Linked DNA regions of Homo sapiens: regions 1 and 2 are each linked to region 3. Evidence: promoter capture Hi-C in human tissues and cell types (Jung and others, 2019). All regions are on one chromosome and are shown on one strand. The core of a region is centred on a gene start or on the middle of the fragment in contact, and the rest is flanking DNA. Distances in the headings are between cores, read along the strand shown. Region 1 overlaps LINC01746 (long intergenic non-protein coding RNA 1746). Region 2 overlaps CTNNBL1 (catenin beta like 1). Region 3 holds the start of GHRH (growth hormone releasing hormone).

What was found. The method cuts DNA at HindIII sites, captures the fragments that hold promoters and counts their contacts. A contact is called where the count stands out against the background at its distance.
Region 1: a contact is called between a fragment that was not itself captured here and the fragment with the promoter of GHRH in region 3, in 1 of the 25 tissues and cell types used here (thymus).
Region 2: a contact is called between a fragment that was not itself captured here and the fragment with the promoter of GHRH in region 3, in 1 of the 25 tissues and cell types used here (H1 embryonic stem cells).

The regions. Positions count from the first base shown.
Region 1 is chr20:37,576,779-37,580,556 of GRCh38, forward strand. All of the region lies in intron 2 of LINC01746 (long intergenic non-protein coding RNA 1746), which reads left to right. Among named protein-coding and RNA genes, the nearest start is that of LINC01746, 7.6 kb to the left of the region's middle. The HindIII fragment of the contact is 3,072 bases long and covers 1-2,964 here.
Region 2 is chr20:37,707,558-37,711,343 of GRCh38, forward strand. All of the region lies in intron 1 of CTNNBL1 (catenin beta like 1), which reads left to right. Among named protein-coding and RNA genes, the nearest start is that of CTNNBL1, 15 kb to the left of the region's middle. The HindIII fragment of the contact is 3,185 bases long and covers 1-3,142 here.
Region 3 is chr20:37,260,276-37,263,956 of GRCh38, forward strand. It overlaps GHRH (growth hormone releasing hormone), which reads right to left and starts at 1,539. Exons shown (of 5, transcript NM_021081.6): 1 at 1,468-1,539. The HindIII fragment of the contact is 8,848 bases long and covers 1-3,681 here.

The DNA of each region.
Region 1 (3,778 bases), core at 179-2,678, 320 kb after region 3:
TGACCCTCCAGGCCTAACTTATGTCCCCGTGTCCTCCTGGAAACCATGCTCCTTGCCTTCAGAGCCCCCACTTCTACTTGCAGTGAGTAATTACAAACCAGAGTCTGTCTCCCCACCAGCATGTGAGTTCCTTGTTTGCCTTGCTCACTGCCATATCCTCAGTGCCTGGCATACAGTGAGTGCTTAATAGATGTTCCTGGTGTAATTGCCTTTCTCTCTGCCCCTTCTAGTCTCTCTGCTTTGTCCTAGCTGCCCGGATGACCTAGCCAGAGGCTTCTCCACTTGTCTCTCATCCTGCTCTTCACTTCCCTGTCTCCACAGCTCTTGGTGGCCCAGGGTGGGCCTTGGCCTTCAGCCTGCTGACCCAGGACCCTCACTCCTTCCATAGTGGGGACCAGTGCCTGTCTGAGCCCCATCATGATCCCACTGGGAGGTACTTGTTATAACTGGTTAGAGGAATGAATGATACAAAGAGAAAGGATTTGCCATTTCAATCCCAGCCATCTCTGCTTGACATACCTTGTGACCCTGCGCAAGTCACCTCATCTTTTGAGTTTCTCTTTCTCCATCTGTGAAACTGACTGGAGATCAGCAAAGACATTCCATGGGAACCTGCTTTGTAACCCATGAAGTGCCTTGTTGGTACCTGTGACTACCAGATGTTAGTATAACGTTTTCCTTCCCTCTCTGGGCACTAAGACACATGAAGTTCAATTTGCAGCCCCCAGGAGCCCAGGCTGGGGTGCTTGGGGTGCTGGGGCTCTTCAATGATGGCAACTAGGGGAAGGACAAAGTTGGTGTTTAAAACCAAATTCATTAATGTGTGTATCATTGAGCAGGGATCCTCAACCCCCAGGCCACATAGCAGGAGGTGAGCGGGGGACAAGCAAGCAAAGCTTCATCTGTATTTACAGCTGCTCCCCATTGCTCACATTACTGCCTGAGCTCCACCTCCTGTCAGATCAGTGGTGGCATTAGATTCTCACAGGAGGGCGAACCCTATTGTGAACTGTGCATGCGAGGGATCTAGGTTGCACACTCCTTATGAGAATCTAACGCCTGATGATCTGTCACTGTCTCCCATCACCCCCAGATGGGACCATCTAGTTGTAGGAAAACAAGCTCAGGGCTCTTACTGATTCTACATTATGGTGAGTTGTATAATTATTTCATTCTATATTACAATGTGATAGAAATAGAGTGCACGATAAATGTAATGTGCTTTAATCATCCGGGAATCATCCTGAAACCTTCCTTCCCCCAACCCCACACCGGTCCTTGGAAAAATTGTCTTCCATGAAAGCTGTCCCTTGTGCCACAAAGATTGGGGACCACTGTTACTGAGCACCTACTATGTGCCAGGCACTGTTTAGGGCTCTAGGGCTATATCAGCAAACAAATTAGAACTCTGCTCCTAGTTCCTAACGCAGTCATTGCACCATCCATGACTTCAACAGATATGCATTGAGCACCTACTGTGTGCTGGGCACAGCGGAGGCCTTGGGATGGAGAAGTGAATGAGACCTGCCCTCACAAGTGCATATTTGGTGCTCCATCTCTGTTCAGTGCTTAGTGCCTTTCCACGCTCCAATATTTTACCTTTGGCCTGCCCAACTAAAGTGATGAGAGCAATTGCAGATTAGGTGACTTGCTGAAGGTCACGTGTGCTGGAAATTGGAAGAGCTGAATCAAAACTCAGATCTGTTTGAGTCTAGGGCCCTAACTCTTTGGGTATCTTGGGTTGTATCTATCCTCTGTTTACAAGTCTCTCTCTCTCTCTTTTTTTTTTTTGAGATGGAGTCTCGCTCTGTTGCCCAGGCTGGAGTGTAGTGGCACCATCTCGGCTCACTGCAACTTCCGCCTTCCAGGTGATTCCAAGTGATTCTCCTGCCTCAGCTTCCCAAGTCGCTGAGATTACAGGCATGTGCCACCAAGCCTAAGTTTTGTATTTTTCGTGGAGACGGGGTTTCACCATGTTGGCCAGGCTGGTCTCAAACTTCTGACCTCAGGTGATCCATCTGGCTTGGCCTCCCAAAGTGCTAGGATTACAGGCATGAGCCATCGCACCTGGCCCCAAGTCTCATTTTCCCTGTCTGTACCCTGAGTAACCTTGGAGACCATCCAGCGACGTGGATCAGTGAGAGGAGTGTTGGGGCCAGTGAAGCCGGGGAAGGGGTGCCCAAACTAACATCCCTTCTCCACCAGCAGCCAGGCCAGCTCAGCCTCTGTGCAACTTTCCCTGCTTCTGAGTCTGGAGGTGGTTCTTATTATTGGCTCCAAATGACTTTTGCATCCATTTATTTGCTGCATTTTGATTTTGCATTCAATCTCTGGTCCATTCATGGTGTCTGCGCTACCTAGGGGATGCAAAATTGAGGCAGCCAGGAGTGCAGTTTGGACACGCCTGACAGCCACCACTCCTTGGAGGGAGGAACGCTTGACTGACTCCACAGTGGAAAGGCTGATGAGCAGGAGGCTGCCCCGCCACTGCCCCCTACTCCAGCCAGAATCTGCCAGATGGGCTTCCCACCCCGAAGCTGGCTTCTCCACTCCCCCGGCTCCAACACACATATCTCAGCTGGAGAGATGGCCACTGGGAACCCAGCCAGTACCTGGGGCCTGTAAGCAGGGCAGGCACTAGACTTCATAAAGGATTTGAAATCCTTCAGGGCTATGCAGGAGCATTTGGGCAGAGAGAGCAGAATATGAGTCCCAACTTGGTCCCGCCAACCTCTCTTCTTCATTCACCTTTAGTGGTGTTGTTTTGTTTCATTTTGTTTTGAGGTGGAGTCTCACTCTCTTACCCAGGCTGGAGTGCAGTGGTGTGATCTTGGCTCACTGCAACCTCCACCTTCTGGGTTCAAGTGATTCTTCTGCCTCAGCCTTCCGAGTAGCTGGGACTACAGGCATGCACCACCACACCTGGCTAATTTTTGTATTTTTAGTAGAGACAGGGTTTGGCCATGTTGGCCAGGCTGATCTCGAACTCCTGACTTCAGGTGATCCACACACCTTGGCCTCCCAAAGTGCTGGGATTACAGGTGTGAGCCACTGAGCCCAACCTAGTGGGGTCTTTCTAATAGACGATTTGACCTGGCCCCTCTCCTGCTCAAGACCCTTCCATTGCTCCCCACTCCCCTCAGGCTTGGGTACAAATTTCTGGCCTTCCAAGCCCTATCCACACCAGCCCCCTCTCTCAGTTCTTCCTAAGCTCCAGCATCTCCCAGTGGCTCCTATTTCCCCATGTTCACACCTTGGCAGAGGCTGTTCCCTTTGCCCAAACCATTTGCCACATTGTCCTTTAGGCAAACTCCTAGACACTCTCTGCAAATTGTGAGGACACCAGCTAGCCCTCTGCACCAGGTATTGCACTTCACACTTTATATGCCTTATTCACTTGGCACTCACAGCCCCTCTAAGAGAAATTCCCATTTGCAGATCTCCTGAAGTCAGCAGAGGCTCAGAGAAGTCAAGCAACTTGCCCTGGGTCACACAGTAGGATGGCAGGGCAGGCAGTGCAACTCCAGAGTCTATGCTCCTAACCTCAGAGCCTCAGAACCAGCTCAGAGCCCACCTCCTCAGAGCTCTCCCAGCCACACAAACGCCAGCCTCCTCCATCCCACCTCACTCCTGCTCTCAGCAGAGAGACCTCCCTCCTCATCTGGGGCTCCCATGGACCCAGGACGTTTTTGGTGATTACATTTCCACACTGCCTTTATTCCCTCATGTCTGGCTCTGTCATGAGATGCTGAGGCTGGTCAAGGACTGTGGCTGTGGG
Region 2 (3,786 bases), core at 300-2,799, 450 kb after region 3:
GATTAGGCTTGGCTCAAGAGAATGTTGTGACTGGTTTGATCTTCTGTCCAGAGCACTAAGACTTTCTCCATATAAGCAGTAAGGCTCTTTAGCTCTTTTACTATTCATATGTTTACTGGAGTAGCACTTTTAATATCCTTCAAGAGCTTTTCCTGTGCATTCACGCTTTTCTGTCTGGTATAACAGGCCTCGCTTTCGGCCCATTGCCGCTTTCAACATCCTTTCCTCACTAAAGCTTAATCATGTATAGCTTTTGATTTAAAGTGAGAGATGTGAGACTCTTTCTTTCACTTGAACACTTAGGGCCATTGTAGGGTTATTAATTACTTAATTGCAGTATTGTTGTGTCTCAGAGAATAGGGAGACCTGAGGAGAGAGAGAGAGAGAGAGAAAGAGGAAAGGCTGGTTGAGGCACTCAGAACACACACATTTATTCATTAAGTTCGCTGTCTCACGTGGGCGTGTTTGTAGTGCCTGAAAACAAAGTAGTAATATTAAAGATCACTCATCACGGATTACCATAGCAGATATGATAATAATGAAAAAGTTTGAAACATTGCAGTAATTGTCAAAATGTGACACAGACATGAAGTGAACACATGATTTTGGAAAAATGGCAGCGATAGACTTTCTTTTTTTTTTTTTTGGAGGTAGAGTCTGGCTCTATTGCCCAGGCTGGAGTACAGCAGCAGGATCATGGTTCCCTGCAGCCTTGACCTCATGGGCTCGAGCAATCCCAGATTAGCTGGGACTACAGGTGTGTGCCACCATGCCCAGCTAATTTTTGTATTTTTTGTAGAGATGGGGTTTTGGCATGTTGCCCAGTCTGGTCTGAAACTCTTGGGCTCAAGTGATCTGCCCACCTCAGCCTCCCAAAGTGTTGGGATTACAGGTGTGAGCCACCGCGCCCAGCTGATAGACTTTCTTGATGCGGGGTTTCTATAAATCTTCAATTTGTAAAAAGCACAGTATCTGCAAAGGGGGAAAAAAATGAGGTATGCTTGTAGTTCAGAACTAGTTTCTTTTCCATAGAATTCCAGCAGTGACTGATCTGAAAATGTTTTAGCCTAAACTTTAGAATTCCAGCTCCATTGTGGGTTGGTAAATGGAAATTAGCTTTTCTTCATCCTGGAGTTCAGTGAAGGATCTAGTGAGACTACTGCAGTGCCTTTCTATCTTTTAACTCACTTTGGATTATCAGCTGCTTGTAAGCAGATTATGTGCACTGGCTCTTTGTACTTCCTTTCAACAGCTACCCAGCAATATCTAGAGTCACTGAACTAAGAAGGAGTTGAAACTGGCCAGGCGCGGTGGCTCACACCTGTAATCCCAGCACTTTGGGACGCCGAGGTGGGCGAATTATGAGGTCAAGAGATCGAGACCATCCTGGCCAACATGGTGAAACCCTGTCTCTACTGAAAATACAAAAATTAGTTGGGCATGGTAGCATGCACCTGTAGTGCCAGCTACTCAGGAGGCTGAGACAGGAGAATTGCTTGAACCTGGGAGGTGGAGGGTGCAGTGAGCCGAGATCGCGCCACTGCACTCCAGCCTGGCAACAGAGCAAGACTCCGTCCAAAAAAACAAACAAAAAAAAAGAGGGAGTTGAAACCAAGCAGAGTATCATGATGCTTCTCTCTGAATATATCTGACTTTATTCCAAAAGCAGGCATGATTGATTCTTGAACAGTTTTGCTGGCATTATTTTTAGTGCAGATTCTAGCTTCATGTTTGGCATTATTCATGTGCTCATTCTGTTAATACATAAAATTGAGGGTTGATGACATTTCTTTATTTGAATCCCCTATTTCCAGTTAAGAGCATCTCAGTTTAAATTTTCTTTTGGGATCCTTGATAGAGTTAAACATTAGCAGCACACCAGTCCTCTGCTGGTATATAATGTTGGAATGCGATTTTCTTTGCAGCTTTGTATAAAAAGAAACAAATTGTAGCTACAGTTTGTCATGTTATCTTTTAGCAGACGCTCTCAACATCAATGCTTCCATAATAGGATTAATGATGGGGGAAACTTTTGAGCATCTCAAGCTTGCATAGTTATTCACAGAGAAGCTGAAACACGTAATGGGGGCTCTGGCCAGGAGTACCTCTATTGGGCAAGGGAAGGTAGAGATGCCGAAGGACTAACAGAATAGTGAAACTCGGCAATAAAGGAGGACACGAAAAAGACATTGCGATTGATTGAGGGTTGTAGCTGAAAGAAACCCATAATGAGATTCCTTTTTTAAAAAAGGTGGCACAGATTGTATTGAATTGTACTAACTTCTTGTTTCTCTGGTGTCTTTGGAAAATGTGATGCCCTTCAGAAACAGACTTTCCAGGTAACTGAAGCTTTTAAGTGGCAAGACGATCTATTCCAGCTTCTTCTTTGTACACATGGGTAAACCAGAGAGCCCAGAGAGGGAAATAACTTTAGCACCCCAACAACTTGGTGACAAAATCGGGGTCAGGCAGTGCTGTGTCCTTGATTATGCGTCCTCTTTTCCATGTGCAAAACATGTATTTTTCATCATTTTGTATGGAGAGCTTTCTAAAACATGAACATTCTTGCCTTTCTCAGTAGGACACACTGTGATCTCAGGAGCATCATTATGAATACATGTTAGTTGTGCCTGAATTCTCTCATGACCTTTTGAAATCTGGAAAGCTTTTACTTCTGCACTGTGGAATAGTAGGGATTTTGAGTTCTTGTGCCTACTTTGTGTAGTTTACATTCTTTTCCTTGGTGTCAGCTGTCACTCCTTAGTGTTATTGTTTGTTTGATATGATATCTAACCTCTAAGGCCTTTTTTGCCCATTCTTTTAATGGTGTTTTGAAAAGTTGAGGTTGTTGGAAGAATGAAGCATTCGTATTCTTGGTCATTTTTGGATGAACTGCAAAACTTTTTAGAGCTCTGTTGCTAGATTCCGAAGTCTGTGAGATACTAGAAATCATTTTAGCCTGAGTAGTCTATATTTTCCATGTTGCTTTTCCTCTAGCATCTCTTTGCCCCCCCCACTGCCATCCTGGGAACTAGAGAACATCTGAGCAATTACTGTTGTCCACTAATCATGAGTCTTTCAAGTGAAACTACCACTCACAAATAGGGGCTTAACCTGGCCTTCTGTGGGGTGCTCCTTTCTTTCATGATGCTTATCTTTCTGGAAGGTAGCCATTTACCTGTCTGATTGCCTTAACCCTGTATCTTTTAGTCAGCCTTATATCCATATACACACACCCACAGGCCCGTGAAATCTAATTATATCGATCACCTGAGACCCTGTATGTTTGTTCTTCACCAGTTTATGCCTCTGCTCACTTCTTGTCTTGTGCCTGACTCTTGGCTCTCTGTCATACCCTACCTCTGCTTTCGTCTCCTCTCCAACACACACACCAGTTTCTTTAGGCTTGATATGTACATGTGCTCTGTGGCTCCCAACCCAGAGTCTATTATTAAGGGCTCTGCATGGTTGGGATGGGAGCTGCCATATACAGTGTGCCTCATATGGTGTGCCCTACCCTAGCTGGACCTTTAAGACCCAACCTTTGGCCCTAGCCCATTATCTGGCCCATCTGATCCTCCTGTGAAAGGACAGTTTGAGCAAAACCTTGCTTGAGAAGCTTACAGACTTTCCAGTTCTGCAACTCTGACAGTCTGTGAGTTCTCGTCTTATCTCCTTTTGCCATAGTTTCCTAGTCATTCACCAGGGGTTGGTAAGGAAATAGGATGTTGTTTACCATTGTTTCTAGGGCATTGTAACATATGCTGCTAGTCAGGCTGTGAGACA
Region 3 (3,681 bases), core at 289-2,788:
TCCCACTGGATGAAAATGGGAAACAAGAATTATCCAGTGTAGGGTAAGATAAGAAGAATAGAGGTTATGTCACTAAGGATAAAATAGCTCCAGCCTGAGCAACATGGCGAGACCCCATCTCTACAAAAAAAAAAACACACAAAACAAAACAAAAAAAAACTTATCTAGGCATGGTGGCGCATGCCTGTAGTCCCAGCTACTCTGGAGGCTGATGTGGGAGGATTGCTTGAGCCCGGGAGGTTAAGGCTGCAGTGATCCATGATAGTGCCACTGCACAGTAGCCTAAATGTCAGAGCAAGACCCCATCTCAAAGAATAAAATAAAATAGCTGTCAACAGACACATTCCACATGACAACTTAAGGAGTCAAAATTCACTGAATGAAGTGTAGCCGAGCCCAACAGCATTGCTGGCAACCCTGATGACTGAAGGCACTCCAGAGTTTATAATCTATCATTATGATCATCGGTTAGCTTCCTGCAGTGCTTACTGATTCTGGGATTAGATGTACTTGAGATTGCCTGGATTCAGGATAAACGGGCACTTGATCTACATCCGTTGGCACCTTTTGCCAGCTTTCATGCCAGGAATGCCAGGAGAATTCTGCAGATTCACCTGCAGCTGACAGAGGTCAGGTCTCAAGCACCCAAATTCGCAAGGCCATTTTTGAAAACCCAGGGAAAGAACATCTTTAACCTTCCTTGAATATCCCCCTTTGAAATTTGAGCACCCCAAAGCATAGACTTCCTGATCTGGTTTATAAACTGTTTCAGTGACAGCATTCCAAGTTAAAAGAAATCTAAGTTTTTAATGAGGAAGCATCTTGAACTGTCATTCAAAAGAGTGACACTCCACCTCCTTCCAGAAGGGGTTTGAGGCAGTCTATGGTGAAAGACACAAATACTTCAGGACCATTAAAGCAAGGATCAGGAGACAGGCGTGGGGTAGCGGAGGACTCCAAAGGCAGATAATTGTGTCTAAAACCTGGAGTAAAGAGTGTGGCTGCAATTGAGCAAGAAAGCAAAATGTTATCAATTTCCCGGCAATTACATTGAATCAGTTCTGAGTGATCAATGAGCAGTATTGATTTGCACAGCCACTTGGCTCATCTCTGATCCATGGCAGAATCCCATCGCTGACAGGAAAATCGAGCCAACTCACGTTTGCCCCCGAAGCCTGCCCACGCATCCTCGAAGGAGCACTGAGACCTCACCACCTGCGACAGACACCTGGAGCCAGTCCGCCACGCGCCCAAGTTAAGACAAGCCCCAAACAGCACCATCAAAAGCCTATTCCAGAGCCCCTATTGAGGGGTGATTTTATCCAGAGAGGGGCTCAAATGTACTCACCAGTCCATGGGCAAAGAGGATGGCGGTGGGCCTCTTGGACTCAGTGTTTCTAAGTTGGTGAGAAGGTTAACTTTTCTTACCCCCACCCAGCCTAGCCCCCCCAGGGCCACCCCTCTCACCTGATGCGGCAGATATCCCTCTGCTCCGAGGCACTGCTCAAATCCAGGGGCCCTGGGCTGGGTGTTTGCTCTGGCAGCCGCCTGGCGTTCCCATCATTTATCTCTTCATTTTCCTAAGCGTTGTCAGCGTCAGAGAATCAATTACCCACAAGTCAACCAAAGGACTGTTTTTAGCATCATATCACACTGACAAACCCTGTTGGTGAAAGAGGTTTGGCCCCTTGCAGACTTAGACTCCTGGTAAAGTCTCCTTTTATCTTTGGCACAGTGGACATAGTACAAAGGTGTAACATTATTCCAAGAGGATATAGAGAATATATACTGCTATAATAGTGATTGGAGAACTCGGCTGGGCGCGGTGGCTCACACCTGCCATCCTAGCACTTTGGGAGGCTGAGGCGGGTGGATTGCCTGAGCTCAGAAGTTTGAGACCAACCTGGGCAACATAATGAGACCCTGTCTCTAGAAAAAAATTAAAAATTAGCTGGGCATGTTGGCACATGGGTATAGTCCCAGCTACTCAGGTGGCTGAGGCAAGAGTGTCACCTGAGCCTGGGAGGCGGAGGTTGCAGTGAGCCAAGACCACGCTATGGCACTCCAGCCTGGGTGACAGAGCACGACTCTATCTCAAAATATATATTTTTTAAAAAAAGAAAAAATATGTGTTAAAAATAATTGGAGAACTCATAACAGTGAAACACCAAGAGTTTATTGATTCTCCAAGATAAATGTGCCTTTTCAAAAGTTCATATAATTTAGCTTTGTCCCTGTGTAATTTTATTTCACTTTTGGGTAGACAACATTATGAATAAGCGTTATTCTCTCCTTAGTGGGGAATTTGTTCCCTATCTCCCTTGTCGTCCAATTATCAGAATTCTGCACTATTTGATTTACACCTGCTTGGTCACAGGCTGATTTCAACAGCTAGCCTGGGGGCATCCGTCGTCACCTGTCAAGGCAGCCAGACATTGGCAGTTGCCTCAGAGAAGTGTGAAATGAGAGGGAAGAGATGGAAAACCTTGGGAGAGTTGTTGTGTTTCCAGATTTCTCTAGCCTATAGCTAAGAAATCCTCAGGAATGACATAAAAGCACAGGAGGCAGAAGCTCTGGTTTCCCAGGCGGCCGTCGTGGAGGTGTGGAAAGAGCTCCAAGCCTCGAGTCTAGGGACCTGCTGCCTCTCCCAAGCCTGTCAATCATGACCTCTGTGACCCTTAGGAAGTTACTTCTACCTGGCTGGGTGCAGTGGCTCACACCTGTAATCCCAGCACTTTGGGAGGCTGAGGCGGGTGGATCATGAGGTCAGGGGTTCGAGACCAGCCTGACCAACATGGTGAAACCCCGTCTCTACTAAAAATACAAAAATTAGCTGGGTGTGGTAGTGGGCACCTGTAATCCCAGCTACTCAGGAGGCTGAGGCAGGAGAATTGCTTGAACCCGGGAGGTGGAGGTTGCAGTGAGCCGAGATCGTGCCACTGCACTCCAGCCTGGGCGACAGAGCGAGACTCTGTCTCAAAAAAAGAAAAAAAACTTCTACCCTCCGGGCCTCAGTTTCTACCTGGAAACTTGAGAGTTGACATAGAACAGCAACTTTCAAACTATTTTTTTGAGAGGGATCCTATCTTTGCCACCCAGGTTGGAGTGCAGTGGCATAATCTCGACTCATTGCAACCTCCACCTCCCGGGTTCAAATGATTCTCCTGCCTTAGCCTCCAGAGTAGCTGGGATTACAGGTGCGTACCACCACGCCTGGCTAAGTTTTGTATTTTAGTAGAGATGGGATTTCACCATGTTGGCCAGGTTGGTCTCAAACTTCTGACCTCAGGTGATCCACGTGCTTCTGCCTCCCAAAGCACTGGGATGACAGGTGTGAGCCACCACACCCAGCCCAAACATTTTTTAAAAAGTAGCAAAACTCTTTCTTTGGAAACCTACAGAGACAGGTTTTTAATATGGGGCTACTCTGGTTGAAGAGGGGGAAGTGGAGACCCCCTTGCCTATCCCTGAGGTACCTCGATGGGTCACAATTACAAGCCAGTAATTTCCAAGAGTCCCCTTAGCAACACTATTTTGTGGTTCTCCTTCTTAGCCTGCACTGAGCCATGTTCTTGGCATCTAGCAAATATGAGATGTTTCTCATAGAAGCAAGGCTTGAGTGGTATGTCACCTTGCTGGCCAGGATACGAAGTGGTCAGGTCAGGCCAGATCCCCAAGGAT